Regions from separate parts of the Homo sapiens genome. Here all the other regions are linked to region 4. Evidence: promoter capture Hi-C in human tissues and cell types (Jung and others, 2019). All regions are on one chromosome and are shown on one strand. The core of a region is centred on a gene start or on the middle of the fragment in contact, and the rest is flanking DNA. Distances in the headings are between cores, read along the strand shown.

The links. Contacts are between HindIII fragments. The study calls those that stand out against the background at their distance.
Region 1: a fragment that was not itself captured here is called in contact with the fragment with the promoter of SLC23A2 in region 4 in 1 of the 25 tissues and cell types used here (spleen).
Region 2: a fragment that was not itself captured here is called in contact with the fragment with the promoter of SLC23A2 in region 4 in 1 of the 25 tissues and cell types used here (spleen).
Region 3: a fragment that was not itself captured here is called in contact with the fragment with the promoter of SLC23A2 in region 4 in 2 of the 25 tissues and cell types used here (adrenal gland and pancreas).

Annotation. Positions count from the first base shown.
Region 1 is chr20:5,044,216-5,046,915 of GRCh38, reverse strand. No RefSeq gene overlaps it. Among named protein-coding and RNA genes, the nearest start is that of SLC23A2, 44 kb to the right of the region's middle. RefSeq lists a silencer at 1,458-1,677. The HindIII fragment of the contact is 5,043 bases long and covers 1-2,700 here.
Region 2 is chr20:4,943,154-4,945,853 of GRCh38, reverse strand. The region is part of intron 2 of SLC23A2 (solute carrier family 23 member 2); the gene reads left to right. Among named protein-coding and RNA genes, the nearest start is that of SLC23A2, 57 kb to the left of the region's middle. The HindIII fragment of the contact is 3,038 bases long and covers 1-2,700 here.
Region 3 is chr20:4,962,622-4,965,321 of GRCh38, reverse strand. All of the region lies in intron 2 of SLC23A2 (solute carrier family 23 member 2), which reads left to right. Among named protein-coding and RNA genes, the nearest start is that of SLC23A2, 38 kb to the left of the region's middle. The HindIII fragment of the contact is 3,149 bases long and covers 1-2,700 here.
Region 4 is chr20:5,000,133-5,002,832 of GRCh38, reverse strand. SLC23A2 (solute carrier family 23 member 2) reads left to right here and starts at 1,323. Exons shown (of 17, transcript NM_005116.6): 1 at 1,323-1,427. RefSeq lists an enhancer at 778-927, a promoter at 1,236-1,434 and silencers at 1,218-1,457, 1,648-1,807. The HindIII fragment of the contact is 14,848 bases long and covers 1-2,009 here.

The DNA.
Region 1 (2,700 bases), core at 124-2,623, 44 kb before region 4:
TCTTTCAATCCATAAACATAGGGTATCTTTCCATTTATTTATGTCTTTTAAAATTGCTTTCAGCAATGTTTTGTGGTTTTCATTGCACAAGTCTTTCAATGACTATTTTATTCCTTTTTTTTTTTTTAGAGATGGAGTTTCGCTCTTGTTGCCCAGGCTGGAGTGCAATGGCACGATCTCAGCTTACCACAACCTCCACCTATGGGGTTCAAGCGATTCTCCTGCTTCAGCCTCCCGAGTAACTGGGATTACAGGCATGTACCACCATGCCCAGCTAATTCTGTATTTTTAGTAGAGAAGGGGTTTCTCCATGTTGGTCAGGCTGGCCTCGAACTCCCAACCTCATGTGATCTGCCTGCCTCAGCCTCCCAAAATGCTGGGATTACAGGCGTGAGACACCGCACCCAGCTGTATTCTTTTTATGCTATTATAAATAGAATTATTTTCTTAATTTCATTTTCAGATTGTTCTTTGTTAGTATATAGTAACACAACTGATTTTCATGTATTGCTTTTGTGTCCTGCTGCTTTGCCAAATTTGTTTAGTAGTTCCAAAGGGTTTTTTGTGGAATCTTTAGGGTTTTCTAAGATCATATAATCTATGAATAATAATTTTCCTTCTTCCTTTCCAATTTGGATGCATTTTCTTTCTTTCTTCTTTTCTTTCTATTCCCTCCTTTTCCTTTTCTTTTTTCTTTTCTTTCCTTTTCTTCCTTTTTGCCTAATTGCTCTATCTAGAAATTCCAAGACTACGTGGTATGGAAGTGGTGAAAGTGGGCATTCTTGTCTTGTTCCTGATCTTCGAGGAAAAAGTTTGTCTTGCATCATTGAGTATGATTTAACTATGGGGTTTTCATATATGGCTATCATATTGTGGTAGTTTTCTTCTATTTCTAGTTTGCTGCATTTTTTTTTTAATCATGAAAGCGTGTTGAACTTTTTCAAAAGCTTTTTGTGCATTGACTAAGATGATCATGTGGTTTTTGTCTGTCATTCAGTTACTGTTGTGCATTACACTTACCGATTCTGGGATTGATTTTAAAGCATTCATTCCTCCAAACACACTCCCAGGGTTAGGTCTCTTACCTCTGCATGTATTTAGGAAAAAGACATAATATGACCAACTTCCCAACTATTAAACCATGTTTAGGATAAACTGTATTTTGTTATGGTGCCTTATTTATTTATTTATGAGACGGAGTCTTGCTGTGTCACCCAGGCTGGAGTGCAGTGGCGTGATCTCGGCTCACTGCGACCTCCGCCTCCCAGGTTCAAGTGATCCTCCTGCCTCAGCCTCCTGAGTAGCTGGGATTACAGGCACGCACCACCACATCTGGCTAATTTTTATATTTTTAGTAGAGACAGGGTTTCACCGTGTTGGCCAGGCTCGTCTCGAACTCCTGACCTCAGGTGATCTGCCCCACCTTGGCCTCCCAAAGTGCTGGGATTTACAGGCGTGAGCCACCGACCCTGGCCTGGCGCCTTCTTTTAAATAAGTTTTTTTTTTTTTTTTGAGATGAAGTCTTGCTCTGTCGCCCAAGCTGGAATACAGTGGTGTGATCTCGTAACCTCTGCCTCCCGGGTTCAAGCAATTCTCTGTCTCAGCCTCCTGAGTAGCTGGGATTACAGGTGTCCGCCACCATGCCCGGCTAATTTTTGTATTTTTAGTAGAGATGGGGTTTTGCCATCTTGGCCAGGCTTGTCTTGAACCCCTAACCTCGTGATCCACCCGCCTCGGCCTCCCAAAGTGCTGGGATTACAGGCATGAGCCACCGCGTCTGGCCCTTTTAAATAGTTTTATACTGCATACTATATTCAGTCTTTAGTGGTAGATGAATTCTTACTCTGTTGTTGCGTGCCCTGGAGAGCATAGTTCCTTGGAGACACCAAAGGAAGATTTTTCCAGGAAGGTCTTTTGGGAAGGGGCCTCCTCCAAGAAGGGAGTGAGGAAGGAGGTAGATTGAGTCAATGCACTTTTCCTCTATCTGGTCAGAGTTCTTGAAGGTATTTTTCTTCTGAACTTGGGTGGGGTTTGCAGTGGGGTAGGGGAAAAGAGAAATGATTCTGACACATACAAGAAAATGCTCCTTTGTGGGGCACGGGGGCAGGAGTTGCTTCCAAAAGGACCCAACAAAGACCTGTAGGGAACGTTTAAATTTATCTGTGTGTGGCCGGGCATGGTGGCTCATGCCTGTAATCCCAGCACTTTGGGAGGCCAAAGTAGGTGGATCACCTGAGGTCGGGATTTTGAGAGCAACCTGGACAACATGGTGAAACATGGTGAAACCCCGTCTCTACTAAAAATACAAAGTTAGCCCGGCATGGTGGCGCGTACCTGTAATCCCAGCTATTCGGCAGGCTGTGGAAGAAGAATCTCTTGAACCTGGGAGGCGGAGACTGCAGTGAGCCAAAATTGCGCCATTGCACTTCAGCCTGGATGACAAGAGCGCAACTCTGTCTCAAAAAATAAATAAATAAATATCTGTGTGAACTAGCACTTGAGAGACTGCAGCCTCAGGCAGTTTTCAGCCCTGTGCACACAATGAAATTACCTAAGGGGCTTAAAAAAAAATACGGAAGCCTGGGTCCCACCCCAGAGGCTCTGAGGGAAGTAACCTGCAGTGCAGTTTTTAACCATCCACAGGTGTTCGTCATGCAGCGCCAAGGTTGGGTAATGAAGAGCTGACATTGATTGAAGCTT
Region 2 (2,700 bases), core at 118-2,617, 57 kb after region 4:
AAATAATCTGATTTAAGTCGGGCACTTGGAACATGCCTTTCATGTCAGTGTGCAGAGTTTTTCCATCAGTGACTTGCAGACTCTTTTCCCCTGACCCACAGCATGAAGCATTTTACCTTGACACTCTCGGTTACCCCTGTCTTTTGAGATATGCTCTGAAGTTTTTTGTTCTGTCAAATGCCATTGTTTTAAAAATTCTGGTCAAGATCCACTAATTTAATTTCATGACCTACTAGTAGGTACTGACTTGCGGTTTGAAAAATGAGCGCTGGCTAGGCATGGTGGCTCATGCCTGTGATCCCAGCACTTTGAGAGGCTGAGGCGGGAGGATTGCTTGAGCTCAGGAGTTCGAGACCAGCCTGGGCAACAAGTAGACCCTGTCTCTACAAAAAATACAAACATTTGCTGGGCATAGTGGCGCATGCCTGTGGTCACAGCTACTCAGGAGGCTGAGGTGGGAGGTTGCAGTGAGCTGCGATTGCTTGACTGTACTCCAACCTGGGTGCCAGAGCCAGACTGTGTCTCAAAAAAGACAAACAAACAAACAAACAAACAAACAAGATCAAGAGTTCCTGCAGTGTTTTGGAGAAGACTGCAGGATGATTGTTATTTTTTTTTTAAATTCAGTCACATGCTGTGAGCATACTTGTCATCACAAGATCAAATAATCACCACTGCTTACAAGTTCATTCGTTGCTGCTTGGAGCTTTAAATGGAATAATTATAGCTAGGATCAGCATCAGAATTGCAAACTCCCTGAAGTCGGACTCTGTGTATTAGGTAACCAGTTAAGTCATTTCATTCAAAGGAAGTTGATCATATACAAGTTGAAGATTTTTTTTTTTTTTTTTTGAGAATTCAGAGCGTTTCATTCAAAACTAGCCCTCACCACACCTACAAGTTGAGGGCATATGTTCCAACAGTCTTTTCTGACTTGAATTAAAAGCATTTAGGTCAAATGTTAGCATTTAACAGAACTTAATGGAGCAGCCACAGTTTGATTATAATCCCCTTAATGGGATTTAAGCAAAGAGCCATGGATTGGCTTTTGAAATGTGCTTCATCATTGAACCTAGCCGGCCCTGAAAGCTCTTGTGTCTTAGTGAGAACCAAAGTAGCACTTGGCAGGCTGAGGTTTTGAGTGTCCTTATCCCAGAGGGCACTCCTTCTTAGTCATATTCTTCCCCTGTCTGGATTGGTTTAAAGAAGTGCAGACAATAGCTTTTTCCCAGCCAAGATTGCCTATCCCAAGGTGTGGGTGATCTGAGGACCTCTAGCATGAGAATATTTGTGCATTTGTTAAAAATACAGGTTCCTGGCCGGGTGCGGTGGCTCATGCCTGTAATCCCAGCACTTTGGGAGGCCAAGGCAGGTGGATCACGAGGTCAGGAGTTCAAGACCAGCCTGGCCAAGATGGTGAAACCCTGTCTCTACTAAAAATACAAAAATTAGCCGGGTGTGGTGGGGCACACCTGTAATCCCAGCTGCTTGGGAGGCTGAGGCAGAGAGTTGTTTGAACCCGGGAGGTGGAGGTTGCAGTGAGCTGAGACTGCACCACTGCACTCCAGCCTGGGCGACGGAGCAAGACTCCATCTCAACAAACAAACAAACAAAAATACAGGTTCCCAAGCCCCCAAGGTAGGTCTATAGGATTAGAATATGAGGAGGGGACATTTTTAAAATTGGTGGGATTACAGGGTTTTTTAATTCTTTTAGTCTTCTAAAGTCAATTTTATTGCGATAGTGTTTACATAGAGCAAGTGGATATACATCCAAATGGAGCCACCAGAATCACAGTCAAAACAGTAGATTTCTATCATTCCAAAGGTTCCATCCTTTCCCTGGGGAGCCCTTTCCTCCATTCTTGCCCTAGGTAACCACTCTCCGCTTCCCGTAGAATGGTTTGTCTTTTGAGAATCAGACTGCATGTCTCGTGTCTGGCTGCTTTAACGAAATGTCTGTGCAGCTCCCTTGTGCTGTCGGGCACGTCAGCAGACGCTCTCTGGTTTGTTGCTAACTAGCATGCCTTTTGATGGACCCACCATGATTTGCTTACCCGTCCACCTCTTGATGGCTCTTTGGATGTTTCTAGTTTGGGGCTGTTATAAATAAAACAGTGTCAAATTTTTGTCTTACATGTATTTGTGTGAAAGAAATCTGTCTTTTTTTTTTTTTTTTTGAGACAGAGTCTGACTCTGTTGCCTGGGCTGGAGTGTAGTCGTGCAGTCTCAGCTCACTGCAACCTTTACCTTCTGGACTCAAGCCATCCTCCCACCTCAGTCTCCTAAATAACTGGGACTACAGGCGGATACCACCATGCCTGGCTAATTTTTCTGTTTTTTTTTTTTGGTAGAAATGGGGTTTCGTCACGTTGCCCAGGCTGGTCTTGAACTCCTGGGCTCAAGCGATCCGCCTGCCTCAGCCTCCCAAAGTGCTGGGATTGCAGGTGTGATCCACCGTGCCTGGCCCAGAAGTGTATATTTTAAATAAGCTTCCCATGTGAGTCTTAAGCACATGAGCCACTGATTCTTATTCTGGCTCTTCCTCTCTCTCGTATCCTTTTGGAGAAGTGTGGGTTTTTGTCTAGAGCAAATGATGGATTTGCCATGGATTTATATTTCTGATATAGTATTTATTCAGTGCCGTCTACTTGGAGTAAATGTAAATTTCATTAGCATTTATGGAACATCTATCTTCTCC
Region 3 (2,700 bases), core at 3-2,502, 37 kb after region 4:
GAACCCCTGAACACAGTAGGTTTACCGAGTATGAAGAGCGCTTACCTTTTGACCACACCTTTGGTTTCCTAAGTTACTCAGGTGCCATCAGCAAGCCCTTAGGAATGATAAATTTAGGCTCCTGGTTACCAGGAAACTCTAGCCCTCCCAGCGCTCTCTCCGGGAGCACACTGACTATATCAATAGGGTGTTTTTTCTCAGCACTGGTGTTGACTGCCAGAATTTCTCTTCTAGTTTGTCTTACCTGTATATTTATTTCAGTGTTGTCCTTAGATAATGGCTCAAGCTTTTAAGAATTATGAAAGTGACATATGTACACTGTAGAAAAATAAGGGGAAAAAAAACCACATATAATCCCATCATCTGGAGATAATCATGTACTATTTTGGTGTTTTCCTCCATTTTCCTTTCTTTTTTTTTTTCTTCTTTTCCCTTCTCTTCTACTCTTCTCTTCCTTCCTTTTTTTCTTTTCTTCTTTTTTTTTTTTTTGAGACAGAGTCTTGCTCTCATCACCCAGGCTGGGATGCAGTGGTGCGATCTCACTGCAACTCTACCTCCCGGGTGCAGGGGATCCTCCTGCCTCAGCCTCCTGAGTAGCTGGGACTGCAGGAGTGTGCTACCACACCTGGCTAATTTTTTGGTGTCCCTTCATTTTCTGCATGTGTGCACACACTGAAATGGGATTATCAGGTTTGTTTTGTAAGCCTGTCTTTTTCTCAGCTTAATAATGCACTCCTTACGTTGCCACGTCAGTCACCCATGTTTTAATCTCTGTAATATGCTCATATAAGAATGTGCCCACAATTGTACCAACCAGTCCTCTATTTTAGGCATTAATATTTTCCCCTCCGGTTTTGGATTACTCTTAAGCATTATTTTAATGAACACTCACAAAATGAAAAATTTAAGCCTGTTTTAATTATTTTGCTAGGATAAATTCCTTAAGAGTAAAATTGTTAGGTCAAAGGCTATGTGTATTTTTAGAGCCTTTGATTGGTGATGTTAAATTACCATCTAAAAATGTTATGTCTGGGTGCAGTGGTTCACGCCTATAATCCCAGCACTTTGGGAGGCTGATGTGGGCGGATTGCTTGAGCCCAGGAGTTCAAGACCAGCCAGGGCAACGTGGGGAGACCCCATCTCTACCAAAAATAGAAAAATTAGTATGTGCCTACAATCCCAGCTACTTGGGAGGCTGAGGTGGGAGGATCACCTGAGCCCAGGAAGGTCAAGGCTGCAGTGAGTCATGATTGTGCCACTGCACTCCAGCTTCGGCGACAGAGTGAGACCCTATCTCAAAAAAAAAAAAATAAGTTAATGGCAATTATTACTCCCACTAGCAGTATATCCAAAGTGCTTGCATGTTAACGGGATGTTAAAAATTATTTACTAAATTTACAATTACAATTTGTTGTGTAAATTATAAATGGTACATTTTATTTTATTTCTGCCTTTTTGATTTTTTGCTTTTTTTGAGACAGAGTCTCACTATGTCACCCAGGCTGGAGTGCAGTGGCACGATCTCAGCTCACTGCAACCTCCGCCTTCTGGGTTCAAGTGATTCTGGTGCCTCAGCCTCAGGAGTAGCTGGGACTACAGGTGTGTGCCATCATGCCTGGCTAATTTTTATATTTTTAGTAGAGACGAGTTTTCACCATGTTGGGCAGGCTGGTCTTGAACTCCTGGCCTCAAGTGATCCACCCATCTTGGCCTCCCAAACTGCTGGAATTATAGGCGTGAGCCACCGTGCCTGGTCAGATTTTTTACATTTTTTTTTTTTAATAAGAAAGCTTACATATGGTCATATTCCTATTGGCAACACAGAGAATCATATTAAAGGAGTTATGGCAGCCTTAGGGATTCTTATAGCCATGCAGACTACTTTTAAGTGGCTGTGACTAAGGGGTCCTGAAGCCAGCATGCCAGAGCACCTGCTTTCCTGACTTGGTGGCTTGCTGGATACATCTTTAGGTATATACCCTTCGCTTATTTTCTGCTGATCACAATTTAGGAACTGGATAGACCCAGAAAACGTGGATCCCTGGTTGGCTTCATGAACTTGAGAAAAGCATAACTTTGGATAACGAAGGACATTTGGCATGAATTGTGCTCCTTGCTTTGGGAGAATAGCAAAGAGTGAAGTGAGTGGTTTGGATTTTGGGAGATGTGGAAAGGATTTGCTGAGGAATTGATATTTACATTCTCCAGGTGTTGCAGTATTTCCAGGTAGAGGGAATAGCAGGCTGTGTCCTCCAGCCTTAATTCAACTACCACTGTTAGTTTTGAAGCCTTTTTCCTCTTTGCCATCATCTGGCAACTTTTTTTGAGATAGTCTTGCTCTGTCACCCAGGCTGGAGTGCAGTGGCGTTATCTTGGCTCACTTGCAACCTCCGCCTCCCTGGTTCTAAGCGATTCTCCTGCCTCAGCCCCCTGAGTAGCTGGGATTACAGGTGCATGCCACCACACCCGGCTAATTTTGTATTTTTAGTAGAGATGGGGTTTTACCATGTTGGCAAGGCTGATCTCGAACTCCTGACCTCAGGTGATCCATTGCCTCGACCTCCCAAAGTGCTGGGATTACAGGTGTGAACCACTGCGCCAGGCCATCTAGCAACTTCTTGACCTTTCTTTATGCCCCTTGAATGTTGGCTCCTGGCCTGCCACATTTCTTTCCACTGTGTCTTCTAGCATCATCTCTCA
Region 4 (2,700 bases), core at 74-2,573:
TCCCTTGAGCCTGGAAGGTTGATGCTGCAGCCTTAATTGTGCCGTTGCACTCCAGCCTGGGTGACAGAGTGAGACCTTGTCTCTAAAAAATTAAATATAAGCAAATAAAAATGCAGTTATTAGATAAATAAATGGGAAGACACATTATTGTCAAGACACAGACCACACTTGCCTATTTCATAAAATTCCTTTAGTTGCTGCTCCCCCAACTGCATTAATATGTGTGATGTCACTTTCCAAAACTGTGTAAAACACATAAATAATTCTGATTATAAAATCAATTTCTCTCCATGTGAGGTCAGACAGACACCGTCTACAATTCTGTTTCTCAAGAGTTGCCCGGGAACTAGTACATTATCATTCAGTTAGTAAAGCAACCATGACAACGGTTTCAAGATGGAAGGTGTTAAGAAAGTACTAATTATTAGAACATTTAAAAAATTGTATTCAGATTTCAGCAGTGGCTCAATACGTGTGGTCCCCAGACCAGTAGCATCAGCATCACCTGGGAACTTGGCAGAAATGCAGATTCTGGAGCCTCACGCCAGACCTCCAGCCTTAGCAACTCTGGGGGTGGGGCCCAGCCATCTGCATCTTAATGAAGTCCTCAAAGTGAGGCTGCCCAGCTCTAAGACCGAGGGCCAGGGATTTACACTTGGCCTTTCTGCTTAGCGGTCCAAGAACCTCACCCGGGGGCATCACCTGGGGACAATTTAGAAGTGCAGACTTTTGGGCTGCACCCCAGAGCCACTGAATGTGAACCCGCCCCTAGCCTAACACGACCCCCAGAGAATTCACGTCTGAAAAGCCTTGGTCTGTATTACGATCTCTGCATGAGGTAAGAAGGACTTCTTCTCCAGTTAGGTTAAAAAAACTGGCTACCTAAGTGGAGAAGCGGTGAAATTGTTTTAAAACATCCAACCCACTGAGCCCAATGCACCACAAACTGCTTGCTTATCACGCTCGAGCAATGACAGGGCTCGGTGGCAGGCGGGGTAAAAAGGGGGGACCTGGACCAGGACACTCAGGGACCAGCGCTCTGCTTGCCAGGTGGGTCCCCAGGAACAGGTGTGACTGGTGGGAAGGGTCGCGAAGGGGGGCGATCTTTCTGCGCAGGGGAGGGAAATGAAAGGAACGGGAAGGGGACGGCTGGGTGCGAGGCCCGGGATGTTCCGGGGAGCGCTGCCGGGTGCCAGGGAGCAGCCCCTCCCCGGGGGGAGGCCCGAGGGCAGGGGTCGGGGGCGGGGAGGGAGGTGGGCCCCAGACCGGCGCGGGGGCGGGCGGCTCCGCTGCACCCCGCCCCCGGCCCGCCCCTCCGCGGCGCCATTTTGCAGGCGGCTGTCGCGGGGACCGGAGGCGGAGGCTGCAGCGGGCACTGCGGCGCCGAGGCGCGGCGGCAGGACGGGAACCACGCGAGCTGCAGCCAGGTGAGAGCCCGGCCGCCGCGCCCCCTGCCCGGCCTGCGGGCCGCACCTGCCGGCGGGGCCGCGAGGTGCTCGCCGCGCCCACGAGGCCGGCCTGGCACGGCCCCCGCGCGCTGTCACCCACCGGCCCCGCGGCGCGGCCTGCGCGCCCCCACCCCGACCCATCTCCCGGGACCCCGCGCCCGCCGGCCACCCTGGCCCCGGGGCCCAAGATGCCCGGCGGCCCTCAGCTCCTGCCGTTCTGCCGGCCGGGCCGGGCCCCCGGGGTACCCACCCCTTCCCGCCACGGGAGCCACAGCGCGCTCGGGCCCTCAGGCCGCGCAGCGGGGAGGCAAATGGGGCGCCCCCAGAACCCCACTGGCTGCCGCCGCCTCCTCCCGGGCTCTGCGCCCGCGCGTCCTGGGGTCGCTTCCCTCGCCCCTCCCCCGGTGGTGCGCACGGGCATCGTCTCGCCCCCTGGAATTCAGGGGCATCAGGAGGGGCGGCAAGAGGGTGCCTTTTACATTCTTGCTTTCTTCCCTTCTACAAAGACTGCGCGAAGTAATTTTAGAAGCAGCTCCTCCGACCCCGGGGCCTTTCTGGCCTGTTCCCTGGGGGGTCGCGAGTCCCCCTCCTTGCCACCTTTCGGGGGGAAAAAATGACATTTCGAGTGTGACTACTTTAAGGCGCAGGATTTTCTCCTTCGTTTGGTCCTAGATGCCCCCCCTTGGATGGGTGGCTGATAGGATGTCGGCCTGCAGGCTGGGGGTTTAAGCGTGACTGATGGGAAATTATCGATTGTCAGGGCAAAGGGTAAATGAGGGCAACTGCAGGTGGAAGAAAGTCACCCATAAGGGCTTTCTGGGTCTGCAGCGTTTGTAGTAGGTGCTACTTCTATTCTTGCAGTGCTGGGAGACGGGCGGGGGAAGATGCAGTCCCTGCTGACAATTGGGTCATCTGCGCGCAGAGAAGGCCCCGGGATGTGCGAGGACATGGGACTGGGAGTCCGGAGGCAGTCTGGTTTGAGCTGTCACTAATTGGCCATGTGACCTCCCTCAGCCGGCTTCGTCCTCTCTGAAGCAAAAGGCTGGAATTGGGGTGGCTGGAGCATTTTTATTTTATGCTTTTGTATTTGAATGCTGTTGGGTTTGGGCCTCACCGTTTCTGGTTGTCTACACCTGCCTTTTTCACCGTTGCAGGTGACGTTGCCTGCCTCCCCTGAAGGTGTTTGAACCTGGTGAGATGTATAAAGGGCCCTTTTCAGCTCAAAAAATCAGAATTCTGTGCTGGGTTATGG